Linked DNA regions of Homo sapiens: region 1 is linked to region 2. The links are contacts of gene promoters, found by promoter capture Hi-C in blood cells and fetal thymus (Javierre and others, 2016). All regions are on one chromosome and are shown on one strand. Each heading gives the region's core, a stretch centred on a gene start or on the middle of the fragment in contact. The rest is flanking DNA. Distances are from core to core; before and after follow the strand shown.

Region 1 (7,437 bases), core at 1,360-3,859, 310 kb after region 2:
CCTGCTCTAAGAAAGGGAACGTTCAACTCTGAGACTTGAATGCAGATATCACAAAGTCGTTTCCGAGAGTGCTTCTGTCTAGATTTTATATGAAGATATTCCTGTTTCCAACGATATCTTTAAAGCAATCAAAATATCAAATTGCAGATTCTACAAAAATAGTGTATCAAAGCTGCTCTGTAAAAAGAAAGGTTCCACTCTCTTAGCTGAGTACATACATCACAAACATGTTTCTGAGAATCCTTCTGTCTAGTTTTTATGGGAAGATATTTCCATTTTCACCATAGGCGTCAGAGCGCTCCAAATGTCCACTTCCCGATACTACAAGAAGAGTGTTTCAAACTGGCTCTATGAAAGGGAATGTTCAACTCTACGAGTTGAATGAAAAGATCACAAAGAAGTTTCTGAGAATGCTTCTGTCTAGATTTCATATGAATATATTCCCATTTCCCAGGAAATCCTCTAAGCTATCCAAATATCCACTTGCAGATCCTACAAAAAGAGTGTTTCAAAACTGCTCTGTCAAAAGAAAGGTTCAACTCTGTTAGTTGAGGACACACATCACAAAGAAGTTTCTGAGAATGCTTCTGTGTAGGTTTTACATGAAGATATTGCCATTTCCAACGAAATCCTTAAAGCCATTCAAATATGCACTTGCAGATTCTACAAAAAGAGTGTTTCAAAACGGCTCTGTAAAAAGAAAGGTTCAACTCTGTTAGTTGAGTACACAAATCACAAACAAGTTTCTGAGAATGCTTCTGTCTCGTTTTTATGGGAAGATATTTCCTTTTTCACCAAAATCATTAAAGGGCTCCAAAGGTCCACTTCCAGATACTACAAAAAGAGTGTTTCAAACCTGCTCCATGAAAGGGAATGTTCAACTCTGTGACTTGAATGCCGATATCACAAAGTAGTTTCTGAGAGTGCTTCTGTCTAGATTTTTTATGAAGATATTCCCGTTTCCAACGAAATCGTTAGAGCTATCCAAATATCCACTTGCAGATTCTACAAAAAGAGTGTTTCCAAACTGCTGTATCAAAAGACAGGATGTACTCCGTTGGTTGAGGACACACATCACAAAGAAGTTTCTGAGAATGCCTCTGTCTAGATTTTATATGAAGATATTCCCGTTTCCAATGAAATCCTTAAAGCTCTCCAAATATCCACTTGCAGATTCTCCAAAAAGAGTCTTTCAAAAGTGCTCTGTAAATAGAAAGTTTCAACTCTGTTAGTTGAGGACAAACATCACAATCCAGTTTGTGAGAATGCTTCTGTCTAGTTTTTATGGGAAGATATTTCCTTTTGCACCGTAAGCGTCAAAGCGCTCCAAGTGTCCACATCCAGATACTACGGAAAGAGGGTTTCAAACCTGCTCTATGAAAGGGAATGATCAACTCTGTGACGTGAATGCAGACATCATAAAGCAGTTTCTGAGAATGTTTCTGTCTAGGTTTTCTATGTTGATACTCCCGTTTCCAACGAAATAGTGAGAGCTATCCAACTATCCACTTACATATTCTACAAAAAGAGTGTTTCCAAACTGCTGTATCATAAGAAAGGATGAACTCTGTTAGTTGAGGACACACATCACAAAGAAATTTCTGAGAATGCTTCTGTCTAGTTTTTATGGGAAGATATTTCCGTTTTCAACATAGGCCTGAAATCGCTCGAAATGTCCATGTCCACATACTACAGAAATAGTGTTTCAAACCTGCTCTATGAAAGGGAATGATCAACTCTGTGACGTGAATGCAGACATCATAAAGCAGTTTCTGAGAATTTTTCTGTCTAGGTTTTCTATGTTGATACTCCCGTTTCCAATGAAATAATGAGAGCTATCCAACTATCCACTTACATATTCTACAAAAAGAGTGTTTCAAAACTGCTGTATCATAAGAAAGGATGAACTCTGTTAGTTGAGGACACACATCACAAAGAAATTTCTGAGAATGCTTCTGTCTAGTATTTATGGGAAGATATTTCCGTTTTCAACATAGGCCTGAAATCGCTCGAAATGTCCATGTCCAGATACTACAGAAATAGTGTTTCAAACCTGCTCTATGTAAGGGAATATTCAACTCTGTGACTTAAAAGCAAACATCACAAAGAAGGTTCTGAGAATGCTGCTGTCTACTTTTTATATGTAATCCCGTTTCCAAGGAAATCCTCAGAGCTATCCTAATATCCACTTGCAGATTCCACAACAAGAGCTTCTCAAAACTGACCTATAAATAGAAAGGTTCAACTCTGTTAGTTGAGTACATATATCCCAAAGAAGTTTCTTAGAATGCTTCTGTCTAGTTTTTATGGGAAAACATTTCCTTTTTCACCAAAGGCGTCAAAGCGCTAAAAATGTCCACTTCCAGATACTACAAAGTGTCTCAAACCTGCTCTAAGAAAGGGAATGTTCAACTCTGTGACTTGAGTGCAGATATCACAAAGCAGTTTCTGAGAGTGCCTCTGTCTAGATTTTATATGAAGGTATTCCCATTTCCTATGAAATCGTTAGAGCTATCCAAATATCCACTTGCATATTCTACAAAAGGAGTGTTTCGAAACTGCTGTATCAAAAGAAAGGTTGAACTCTGTTAGTTAAGGACACACATCACAAAGAAGTTTCTGAGAATGCTTCTGTGTAGATTTTACATGAATATAGTCCCGTTTCCAAGGAAATCCTTAAAGCCATCCAATTATCCACTTGCAGATTTTACAAAAAGAGTGTTTCAAAACTGCTGTGTAAAAAGAAACGTTCAACTCTGTCAGTTGAGTACACACATCACAAACAAGTTTCTGAGAATGCTTCTGTCTAGTTTTTATGGGAAGATATTTCCTTTTTCTCCAAAGTCGGCAAAGCGCTCCAAAGATCCATTTCCAGATACAACAAAAAGAGTGTTTCAAACCAGCTCTATGAAAGGGAATGTTCAACTCTGTGACTTGAATGCAGATATCACAAAGTACCTCCTGAGAGTGCTTCTGTCTAGATTTTATATGAAGATATTCCCGTTTCCAAGGAAATCGTCAGAGCTATCCAAATATCCACTTGCAGATTCTGCAAAAAGAGTGTTTCCAAACTGCTGTATCCAAAGACAGGTTGTACTCTGTTAGGTGGGGACACATATCACAAAGAAGTTTCTGAGAATGACTTTTCCGTTTCCAATGAAATCTACTTAAAGGTATCCAAATATCCGCTTGCAGATTCTACAAAAAGAGTCTTTCAAAACTGCCCTGTAAATAGAAAGGTTCAACTCTGTTAGTGGAGGACATACATCACAAAGCAGTTTGTGAGAAGGCTTCTGTCTAGTTTTTAAGGGAAGATATTTCCTATGTCACCGTACGCGTCAAAGCGCTCAAATGTCCACATCCAGATACTACAGAAACGGTGTTACAAACGTGCTCGATGAAAGAGAATGTTCAATTCTGTGACTTGAATGCAGACATCACAAAGCAGTTTCTGAGAGTGCCTCTGTCTAGATTGTATATGAAGATATTCCCGTTTCCAACGAAATCTTCAAAGTTATCGAAATATCCGCTTGCAGATACTACAAAAAGAGTGTTTCTAAACTGTTGTATCAAAAGAAACGTTCAACTCTGTTAGTTGAGGACACCCATCACAAATAAGTTTCTGAGAATGCTTCTGTCTACTTTTTATGGGAAGTTATTTCCTTTTTCAACATAGGCCTGACATCGCTCGAAATGTCCACTTAGAGATACTACAGAAAGAGTGTTTCAAAACTGCTCTATGGAAGGGAATGTTCAACTCTGTGACTTAAAAGCAAACATCACAAGGAGCTTCTGAGAATGCTGCTGTCTATATTTTATATGTAATCCCGATTCCAACGAAATCCTCAGAGCTATCCAAATATCCACTTGCAGATTCCACAAAAAGAGCATTTCAAACTGATCTATAAAGAGAAAGGTTCAACTCGGTTAGTTGAGTGCATATATCACAAAGAAGTTTCTTAGAATGCTTCTGTCTAGTTTTTATGGGAAGACATTTCCTTTTTCACCAAAGGCGTGAAAGCGCTCCAAATGTCCACTTCCAGATACTACAAAAAGTGTGTTTCAAACGTGCTCTAAGAAAGGGAATGTTCAACTCTGTGACCTGAATGCAGATATCACAAAGTAGCTCCTGAGAGTGCTTCTGTACAGATTTTATATGAAGACATTCCCGTTTCCAACGAAATCGTTAGAGCTATCCAAATATCCACTTGAAGATTCTACAAAAAGAGTGTTTCCAAACTGCTGTATCAAAAGAAAGGTTGAACTCTGTTAGTTGAGGACACACATCACAAAGAAGATTCTGAGAATGCTTCTGTGTAGATTTTACATGAATATAGTCCCGTTTCCAACGAAATCCTTAAAGTCATCCAATTATCCACTTGCAGATTCTACAAAAAGAGTGTTTCAAAACTGCTGTGTAAAAAGAAACGTTCAACTCTGTCAGATGAGTACACACAACACAAACAAGTTTCTGAGAATGCTTTGGTGTAGTTTTTATGGGGACATATTTCCTTTTTCACCAAAGTCGTCAAAGAGCTCCAAAGATCCACTTCCAGATACAAAAAAAGAGTGTTTCAAACCAGATCTACGAGAGGGAATGTTCAACTCTGTGACTTGAATGCAGATCTCACAAAATTAGTTTCTGAGAGTGCCTCTGCCTAGATTTTATATGAAGCTATTCCCGTTTTCAACAAAATCGTTAGAGCTATCGAAATATCCACTTCCAGATTCTACAAAAAGAGTGTTTCCAAACTGATGTATCAAAAGACAGGTTGTACTCTGTTAGTTGAGGACGCACATCACGAAGAAGTTTCTGAGAATGCCTCTGTCTAGATTTTACCTGAAGATATTCCGGTTTCCAATGAAATCCTTAAAGATCTCCAGATATCCACTTGCAGATTCTCCAAAAAGAGTCTTTGAAAACTGCTCTGTAAATAGAAAGGTTTAACTCTGTTAGCTGAGGACATACATCACACACCAGTTTGTGAGAATGCTTCTGTCTAGTTTTCATGGGAAGTTATTTCCTTTTCACCGTAAGCGTCAAAGCGCTCCAAGTGTCCACATCCAGATACTTCGGAAAGAGTGTTTCAAACCTGCTCTATGAAAGGGAATGTTCAAATCTGTGACGTGAATGCAGACATTACAAAGGAGTTTCTGAGAATGTTTCCGTCTAGGTTTTATATGAAGATACTCCCGTTTCCAAAGAAATCCACAAAGCTATCCAAATATCCAATTGCAGATTCTACAAAAAGCGTGTTTCCAAGCTGCTCTGTCAAACGAAATGTTCTATTCTGTGAGTTGAGGACACGCATCACAAACAAGTTTCTGCAAATGCTTGTGTCTGGTTTTTATGGGAAGATATTTCCTTGTTCACCATAGGCCTGAAAACACTCGAAATGTCCACTTCCAGATACTACAGAAAGAGTGTCTGAAACCTGCTCTACGAAAGGGAATGTTCAACTCTGTGACTTAAAAGCAAGCATCACAAAGAAGCTTCTGAGTATGCTACTGTCTAGTTTTTATGGGAAGATATTTCGTTTTTCAACATAGGCCTGAAATCGCTCGAAATGTCCACTTCCAGATACTATAGAAAGAGTGTTTCTAAACTGCTCTATGGAAGGGAATGTTCAACTCTGTGACTTAAAAGCAAACATCACAAAGAAGTTTCTGAGAATGCTGCTGTCTACATTTTGTTTGTAATCCCGTTTCCAACGAAATCCTGAAAGCTATCCAAATATCCACTTGCAGATTCCACAAAAAGAGCATTAAAAAGCTGATCTATAAAGAGCAAGGTTCAACTCGGTTAGTTGAGTACATATATCACAAAGATGTTTCTTAGAATGCTTCTTTCTAGTTTTTATGTGAAGACATTTCCTTTATCACCAAAGGCGTCAAAGCGCTCCAAATGTCCACTTCCAGATCCTGCAAAAAGAGTGTTTCAAACCTGCTCTAAGAAAGGGAATGTTGAACTGTGTGACTTGAATGCAGATATCACAAAGCAGTTTCTGAGAGTGCCTCTGTCTAGATTTTATATGAAGGTATTCCCGTTTCCAAAGAAATCATTAGAGCTATGCAAATATCCACTGGCAGATTCTACAAAAAGAGTGTTTCCAAACTGCTGTATCAAAAGACAGGATGTACCGCCGTTAGTTGAGGACACACATCACAAAGAAGTTTCTGAGAATGCCTCTGTCTAGATTTTATATGAAGATATTCCCGTTTCCAATGAATTCCTTAAAGCTCTCCAAATATCCACTTGAAGATTCTCCAAAAACAGTCTTTCAAAACTGCTCTGCAAATAAAATGTTTCAACTCTGTTAGTTGAGGACAAACATCACAATCCAGTTTGTGAGAATGCTTCTGTCTAGTTTTTATGGGAAGATATTTCTTTTGCACCTTAAGCGTCAAAGCGCTCCAAGTGTCCACATCCAGATAGTACAGAAAGAGTGTTTCAAACCTGCTCTATGAAAGGGAATGATCAACTCTGTGACGTGAATGCAGACATCATATAGCAGTTTCTGAGAATGTTTCTGTCTAGGTTTTATATGAAGATACTCCCGTTTCCAAGGAAATCCACAAAGCTATCCAAATATCCACTTGCAGATTCTACAAAAAGCGTGTTTCCAAACTGCTCTGTCAAATGAAATGTTCAACTCTGATAGTTGAGGATACATATCACAAACAAGTTTCTGCGAATGCTTCTGTCTAGTTTTTATCGGAAGATATTTCCTTTTTCACCATAGGCCTGAAAGCACTCGAAATGTCCACTTCCAGATACTACAGAAAGAGTGTTTCAAAACTGCTCTATGAAAGGGAATGTTGAACACTGTGACTTAAAAGCAAACATCACAAAGAAGCTTCTGAGAATGCTGCTTTCTATTTTTATATTTAATCCCTTTTCCAACGAAATCCTCAAAGCTATCCAAATATCCTCCTGCAGATTCCACGAAAAGACGGTTTCAAACCTGCTCTAAGAAAGGGAATATTCAACTCTGTGACTTGAATGCAGATATCAGAAAGTAGTTTCTGAGAGTGCTTGTGTCTAGATTTTATATGAAGATATTCCCGTTTCCAACGAAATAGTTAGAGCTATCCAAATATCCACTTGCATATTCTACAAAAGGAGTGTTTCCAAACTGCTGTATCATAAGACAGTTTGAACTCTGTTAGTTGAGGACACACATCACAAAGAAATTTCTGAGAATGCTTCTGTCTAGTTTTTATGGGATGATATTTCCTTTTTCAACATAGGACTGAAATCGCCCGAAATGTCCACTTCCGGATACTACAGAAAGAGTGTTTCAATCCTGCTCTATGGAAGGGAATATTCAACTCTGTGACTTAAAAGCAACCATCACAAAGAAGCTTCTGAGAATGCTGCTGTCTATATTTTATATGAAATCCCGTTTCCAAGGAAATCCTCAGAGCTATCCGAAT
Region 2 (6,929 bases), core at 3,661-6,160:
TCAAGAATGGGAGGGAAGAAAGTGTACACAATAGGGAGCCCTCCTGGGGCTCAACAGCACAAAGAGCTGCTGTTATCCATGTTGGGTGTATATTTGCCAAAAATATCAGGGATGCTGGAACTCCAGAACTCACAAGGGCATGCTTTTTGTAGTCTAAATTACCTTGACTATATAAGAACTCAAGTCAGTGGGCATAACTTCATTATCCATTTGTAGCCAAAAGATAACATGATTGGAGATCATAAATTTTCTCTCTGATTTTTCCTCAAGTTTTGAGAAGCATTCCTAGTAAAATTCCAGCAAACTGTGATCACAATACTAACCACAAATCAGCTCTTCAAGGAAGATTGCATTTTCACTTAAATATCGTTTATATCTTAGTTAACAGCTACTTTTCTAAGAGTTAAATAATAATAATAGCTAATAAATATTACCATAGACTGAAAATACAAGAAAACTACAATTAGTTTGAAAAAAGTCTATTGGAAAATTTGGTTCACTATTCATTAGTGGTGTAACTGACCACCCCTATATGTCTAGCTTATGGTACAGCTCAAAATGACTGAGGTAATGAAATTTCCATCACTCAGTTTGGAAAACTATAGCAATATGGCGGAAAAAACTATCCCTCACTTTGTATAAGACTAAAGAAATGCAAAGCAAAAGAAAGGTATAAAATGTTACACTGATTAAATTAGTAACAATAATATGTTTTAAGATAACATAAGCACACACATAGATTGTTAATGACAGTATAAATTTATATAGTCCTTTTAGAAAGTAATGTGGAAATTACTGTAAATCTAGAAATTTCCTAATAAAAATAAGAGCTAACATTTATGTGTTTCATGTGTTATTGCTTTTTATCTTAACTTTAAAGAACTATTAATATAACCCATTTTACATCTTAGTAAGCTAAAGTTCTGAGAAAATAAATTACTTGTCCAATATTGCCAATGAGTACTAGAGCTAGGTTTAAACCCACAACCTCTAATTTTAGAACCCACCCATTTACAACTACATTATACTATCCCTCAAGAAAAAAAAGATCCTAAGGAAGTTAAGGGAAAAAGAAGAAAAGAAAAGAAATAAAGTTACATGTATAAGAATAGGCATTATAGGCCAGGCATGGTGGCTCACGCCTGTAATCCCAGCACTTTGGGAGGCTGAGGCGGGCAGATCACGAGGTCGAGATCGATGAGATCGAGACCATCCTGCAACACAGTGAAACCCCATCTCTACTAAAAATACAAAAAATTAGCCAGGCGTGGTGGCAGGCGCCTGTAGTCACAGCTGCTAGGGAGGCTGAGGCAGGAGAATGGCGTGAACCCGGAAGGCGGAGCTTGCAGTGAGTGGAGATCGCACCACTGCACTCCAGCCTGGGTGGCAAAGCAAGACTTCGTCTCAAACAAAACAAAACAAAACAAAACAAAACAAAACAAAAAAAGAATAGGCATTACATTTTTTATGCTGCAAAATCAAAAACAGGAAGGCTTAAGTTAATAATGAACATCCATTGCATAAACTTTTATAAAATTATTGTAAATAATGGGAAGTAAGCTATAGAAAAAATGTTTATAAAAAACAGGGTGAAAATTATCTGCAATATAAAACATTTGTAAAAATATTCATTCATATGGCAAGATTGGGAAGGGAGCTGGAAAAAATAAAAACCATTACCATTTTGAAGAATTTCACTACTGGTATTGAATTTTCTTTTGTTTCTGTCAGCTTCATTAATCAATCAATATTACTCTAAGTACCCTTACAAATATATTCTTCTAGTTCTTATTCTTAGGATCCCAAACAATTCCTACAGCGAATTTATAATTTATATTAGACTTATTCAAAATAATTACATATGTTTCATCAGCGGTGCTTTTAGAAAGCTTTAGCTTTCAGTATGAGATCTCTATCTTAACATCAACACTTTTTGCAATCATCGCTTACAGTGTACCTTTGAAATCCCTTAATTTAGACCATACGCAGTCACTAAAATCAGCTAATTTTTACTTTCACAACCTTACAATCACTCCTTAACTCCTGTCCCCATCATTAGCCCAAAGGCTGCAGGTACTTTACAAATTAGAAGTTTCCTAATAAGAACATACTCCCTAGGTGAATATTTATCAAGTAACTAAAATATCTTAGCTATAAGGGATGTTCATAATCTAAACACTTCAGAGAAGTATAAATTAAATTATGTCAAGTCTCTTTCAAGTAGGTAAAGTTAATTTCCACTTTACCAAAAAGAAGAGTTTGGTAAGAGTAATTTTCCTAAAAATGACACTGTGGGCTGCGAGGAGAATTCACTCTCCTTAGCCACACAAGGTGACATGAGAGGCCCTCAGCCCGGTGTTTGGCCTCTATCAGCAACATAAACACACATTCTGTGGGTAAGGAGAGTAGCTGTTCTCCAATGACATCAAACTCGTAAGAGCAGGGATATAGTTTAAACATCTCTAACCTCCTCTTCATGAATCCACCATTCAGGAATGTTTTTTGTCGCCCCACTGTCTAACATCCACAGTCCAATGGTTATCTTTAGCCAGTTTTAGGACAACTATTTTAATCGTAGAACTCTGGAGTTCGAAGGACCCTTAAAAATCACATAGTTCAATTCCTTTATCTAACTGAGTGGGAAACAAAGTTTTCCAAAAAAAAGTTACGTCGTGTGGCGGGTTTGTGGCAAATCCAGGCCTAGAATTAAGAGATGCAACCAAACATCTGAAACTCGGCCTTCGTATTTATCCTTTACCACTAACATCTTTATATTATGTCATGTCAATGGGAGTATACACACGCCCTTTCAGTGTTTTCAGATACACACTGCGGTAGACAAAGTAAACTACTACAGTTCTCATTCTCTACTTCATAAAGAATTCCAAAATGGAGGAAAAATTCAATAAAGATTGCAAAAACCAGTGTAGGGAAACTGGTGTGTGTGCAGGAGGAGATATTAGTTTAATAGTTTTGCTTTCCACTGCATACTGTTCTAAGATTTTTAGCCCTCTAACTGATCTTCAAGGTAATAATTGTCCACATTTGGCTAAATAATCTCATGTCATCATGAGTGGGTATCAAGTTAATGGTCATCACCACGAATATATAGTTCAGTCTTATATTCAATCCCTTTCATCATCTATAATGTAATTCCATTTTAATAGACTTACGGAAAGATATACAAAAAATATACAACAGTGGCTGCCTCTGAGAAGGATGAAGGCTTGTATGGAGGAGAGGAAAGAGGGCTTAATTTACACTGTATACTCTTCACTGTTGTTTGAAATGTTTACCCTACTTATATATTCATTCATTAAACATTTTCCTCTTGAAATACATACCTATATGCATGTAACTGTATTACTAAATATTTCAACAATTTAATTTTTTCTCTTTTAAATAATTTTTCAGTATCATTCACAAAACCTCCTAGAAAATTTCAGCAAAGAGAAGAAACAACACAGTCACAACACTCAAAGCAGAGTTCCAGGATTTAAAGTCTAAGAACATATATAGATGAATGAGAGGTTTTATTAAGGGGGACTGAGTTCAAAAACCTTTTGTGGGAAAGCTCTTCCCTGTATTTAAACGGCTAGGTTTAAAAATGTGATTTAAGCAGGGATTCCCGCCTCGAGGCGGGGGGAGGCGGAAAAAAACACCTTACGGTGTGAAAAGCAGAAATTAAAATGTGGTTTCTATCCTCTCAGCCGGGGCCAGAGGAGTGGGTGGGGAGGATAAGGACCTTGGAACCGTCACGTTCACCGGAGAAAGGGGCAAGACTGAGGAGTTTCTCCAGGACCCGCAGCCTCGGTTAGAGGCAGCGGCAGTTCCGGGCAAACGAGTCGCGTTCGGGGACGTTCCTTGGACTCATGTAACTGAGAAACCCCACGCACTGAATCTCCACATGGAGTTTCCTCTTAATGGAGCTGGGAAGAGGGACGGCGGGAATGGATTTCCTTTAACGAGTCTCCCTCACCCTCCCCGGCCAGGGCGCACCTCACTCGCTGTCTGCTTGTGTCAGGGTCAGCTGTCAACACAACTCTTTGTGTCTCATTCGGAATAAGAGTGGTCCTCAGCCATGCACAGAAAAATGGACATGCTGGCCGGAAGACACGCGCGCCCGCTCGTGACGAAGTGACATTTGGTGTTGAGGAAAAAAACCCACAGACGCCGAGCGAGCGCCCAGCCACCTCTGGACGTTCTCAACTTTCCCAGGCTGAACTCCATCCATCCTCTCCCCGCCACCTCCGCGGCGCCCTACCTGTCGCCCGCCCGCCTGCCCGGCACCCCCTCACTGCCCCTGGGCTCGGGGAGACGAACCAGGTGCCCCCTCGCCGCCTCCGCCGGGGGACCCCGCGCTACTCGGCGCGCCGCAGCTCCCTCGTCCCACCCCCGGGCCGTCTCGCTCCCGCCACAAAGGCAGCGAGTAGAGCCCGGTGACAGGCCTTCGGCCTCTGGGCGCGGACAGCACGGCCGGGTCCCTTCGGTGGGCGACGCGAGGCGGCAGGGAAGGCAGGCACGGCTCCCAGGTTGGCACTGGCGCTCCCTCGCCACCCGCACGCGCTCCGCTCACACCCCCGCTGAGCTTCCCATCCCTCCGGAAAAGTCCGCTGCGGCGCTTCCCCGCGCGGCCAGGGCGTCCAGCCCGCCAAAGGGCAGCTCCTGCCGGTCACAGGCGAGCTCCCGCGCCCGGTTCGCGACCTCTCACCTCCTGCCCGCGCCCCGGAGTCCCCGCGGCCGCTCACCTGGCCCTAGCGGGGCGCGAGGGCAGAGGACCAGGGGGTGGCCCTCGGCTCGGCCGGGCTGGTCTCCCCACCCCCAGTGCCGTTCCCTGCGCCGCGCTGCGCTCCGCTGCTCCGGCCGCCCGACTCCGAGGTGCTAGCGCCGCCGGCGGCTGGCGTCTCTCTGGCAGGCGCGCGGTCCGCGCGCTCAGTTCCCCGGGGCGGAGCGAGGCGGCGGCCGCCGCAGCCGGAGGCGGATTCCTCAGGTGCTGCCCCTCCCGCCCGCCCTGGCCTCCGCAGCGGGGACCCCCGCGCCCCCTCCCCCCGCCCCGCCTCGCGCCTTCCCGCTGCCTCGGCGTCCGCGAGTGGCTTTTGGGGGTCCCTCGCCCTCTGTGAGGGTGGTGGGCGCGCATTTCTCCCCTACCCCCCTCCAACGACGCCCCCCGCCCAGCCTGTGGAGCCCTCGATGCGCGGTCCTCACGCCTCCATTCCCAAACCCCGCCGCACAGACGAACGCGCAGCCCCGCGGGGGTGTACAGGGGGTCGTGCGGGGGGGGGGTCTTCTGTGAGGGAGGGCTGCACCCCAGTGTGCTGACGCGCGAAGCCAGGAGGAAAAATTATTTCCCCTGGAGCCCGCGTTCATTCAGCCTGCTCTCGCCTCTGCGCAATTGCTTTCTCTGTTCACTGGACGGCGGCTGAAGAGCCCCAAGCGTGAACTCGGCCTGGGCAGTGGTGGCTCGGAAACCCTTGGCCTTTTGCATGAAGGGGGTAGGGTGGGGGCAGGGCGCGGACAAAACCAAACAAACCCGGGAGCTCCGGGCCCAAGCCGACTTTTGCACCTCCCGGAGGAGCACGCCCTCCGGCCCCGGGCCCCGGCTCGTCGGTAGCCTCCCGGGACCACGGGGACGGCTCCACCCCAGGGCAGCCGCGTCCAGCTGGCCCTGGGCCTTGACGGGTGCTGCGGGGAAAAGGTTCTTGAGAGATGCTGCGGCCCGGTAGAGAGATTTAGCTCCACTTTTCACAGCTGGAGGCTTTTGTTATTAGAGATGCGGCTCCATTTTTAAAACTAATTGTTGCCACAGATAGGCGACTACATCTCTGGAAGCAGCAGCTCCATGCTGGATGTGGTGGAAGAATCGAGGTAAGGAAAGGCTGATGTATTTTGAGTGCCTTTAGTGCAGTACAGCCCGGGGGAGCTCCCCGTGTGCGTGGGAGTGGGGAGGCAGCCGCGGCGCCCAGGCCCGGGTGGGTTGGAATCATTGTCAAGTGATAGGTACCATTTAAAGACATTGTCAATTAAACTAGTTCTCATACGATGTCCCAGTACTTTTGTTTGCTTGTCTTGCATTTTTCTTTTTTGCCATATCCGAAATACATTTTTTTCTTTCCTGTCACTTTTGATCCATGCAGAGGGAATGGACTGGAAGTTTGGAATCACCGGAAAATAACAAGGCATAGCTAAGCTGTGACTAGCAAGATAAACGATTTGTTCGAGGTTTGATTGTCCTTTCCCTCCTCCACTCGGAAGACATAGTTGTCTTTTTTTAAATCATGTTTTGTACCGAAATATTTTTATTTTATAATTGAATCCCTGTTGTTGGGCCTTTAAAAACCCATAGAAACATTGTTATGTGCCACGAAGGTGGGAAACACGGCTTTCTCAGTCATTGCTGTACTCCCACAATTCTGGGTCATGCACACAATACAGGTTTAGTAAATAAAATCCGTATGTTTTTGGCCCCACGCGGTGGCTCATGTCTGTAGTCCCAGCGCTTTTAGCCTGGGTGACAGAGACCCTGACTCAAGAGTGTGTGTGTGTGTGTGTGTGTGTGTGTGTGTGCGCGCGCGCGCGCGGGCGGGCTTTAAAATAACTACAACAGAAAGGTGCAGATGATTAGCAATAGCTAAAAGAATCCAAAGTCACTTAGTAAACTCATCATGAGAACTGGCCATACACGTGGAAAAGACAGTGCTGTAGAAACTGAAATTTTAAGTTCACCTGGTGAATATAAACTAAGCTCATAGAAGTTAAAGCAGGTGAGAATCTTTTGAAAAACTCAACCCATCACAAGGTCTGTAGAGTGTGTGGGGGTTGGGCAGAAGCAAAACACCTTCCAATTTAAAGATAAGGACACTGAACAAGGAGCCGCTTTAAAGTAAAACCACCAGTGCAGTTTTCTCTCTTAGTGCAAGGACCATTTGTTG

The links. Contacts are between HindIII fragments. The CHiCAGO score rates a contact against its expected background, and 5 or more counts as called.
Region 1: a contact is called between a fragment that was not itself captured here and the fragment with the promoter of GREB1L in region 2, in 10 of 17 cell types (total CD8 T cells, activated CD4 T cells, naive CD8 T cells and 7 more). The highest score is 11.7, in total CD8 T cells.

What each region holds. Positions count from the first base shown.
Region 1 is chr18:20,929,734-20,937,170 of GRCh38, reverse strand. No RefSeq gene overlaps it. Among named protein-coding and RNA genes, the nearest start is that of ROCK1, 180 kb to the left of the region's middle. RefSeq lists enhancers at 1,022-1,629, 1,630-2,235, 2,236-2,843, 2,844-3,449, 3,450-4,057 and 5 more. The HindIII fragment of the contact is 5,772 bases long and covers 1-5,495 here.
Region 2 is chr18:21,240,213-21,247,141 of GRCh38, reverse strand. It overlaps GREB1L (GREB1 like retinoic acid receptor coactivator), which reads right to left and starts at 4,910. Exons shown (of 33, transcript NM_001142966.3): 1 at 4,749-4,910. GREB1L-DT (GREB1L divergent transcript) reads left to right here and starts at 4,414. Exons shown (of 3, transcript NR_183513.1): 1 at 4,414-4,532; 2 at 5,807-5,865; 3 at 6,135-6,467. The HindIII fragment of the contact is 7,916 bases long and covers 1,892-6,929 here.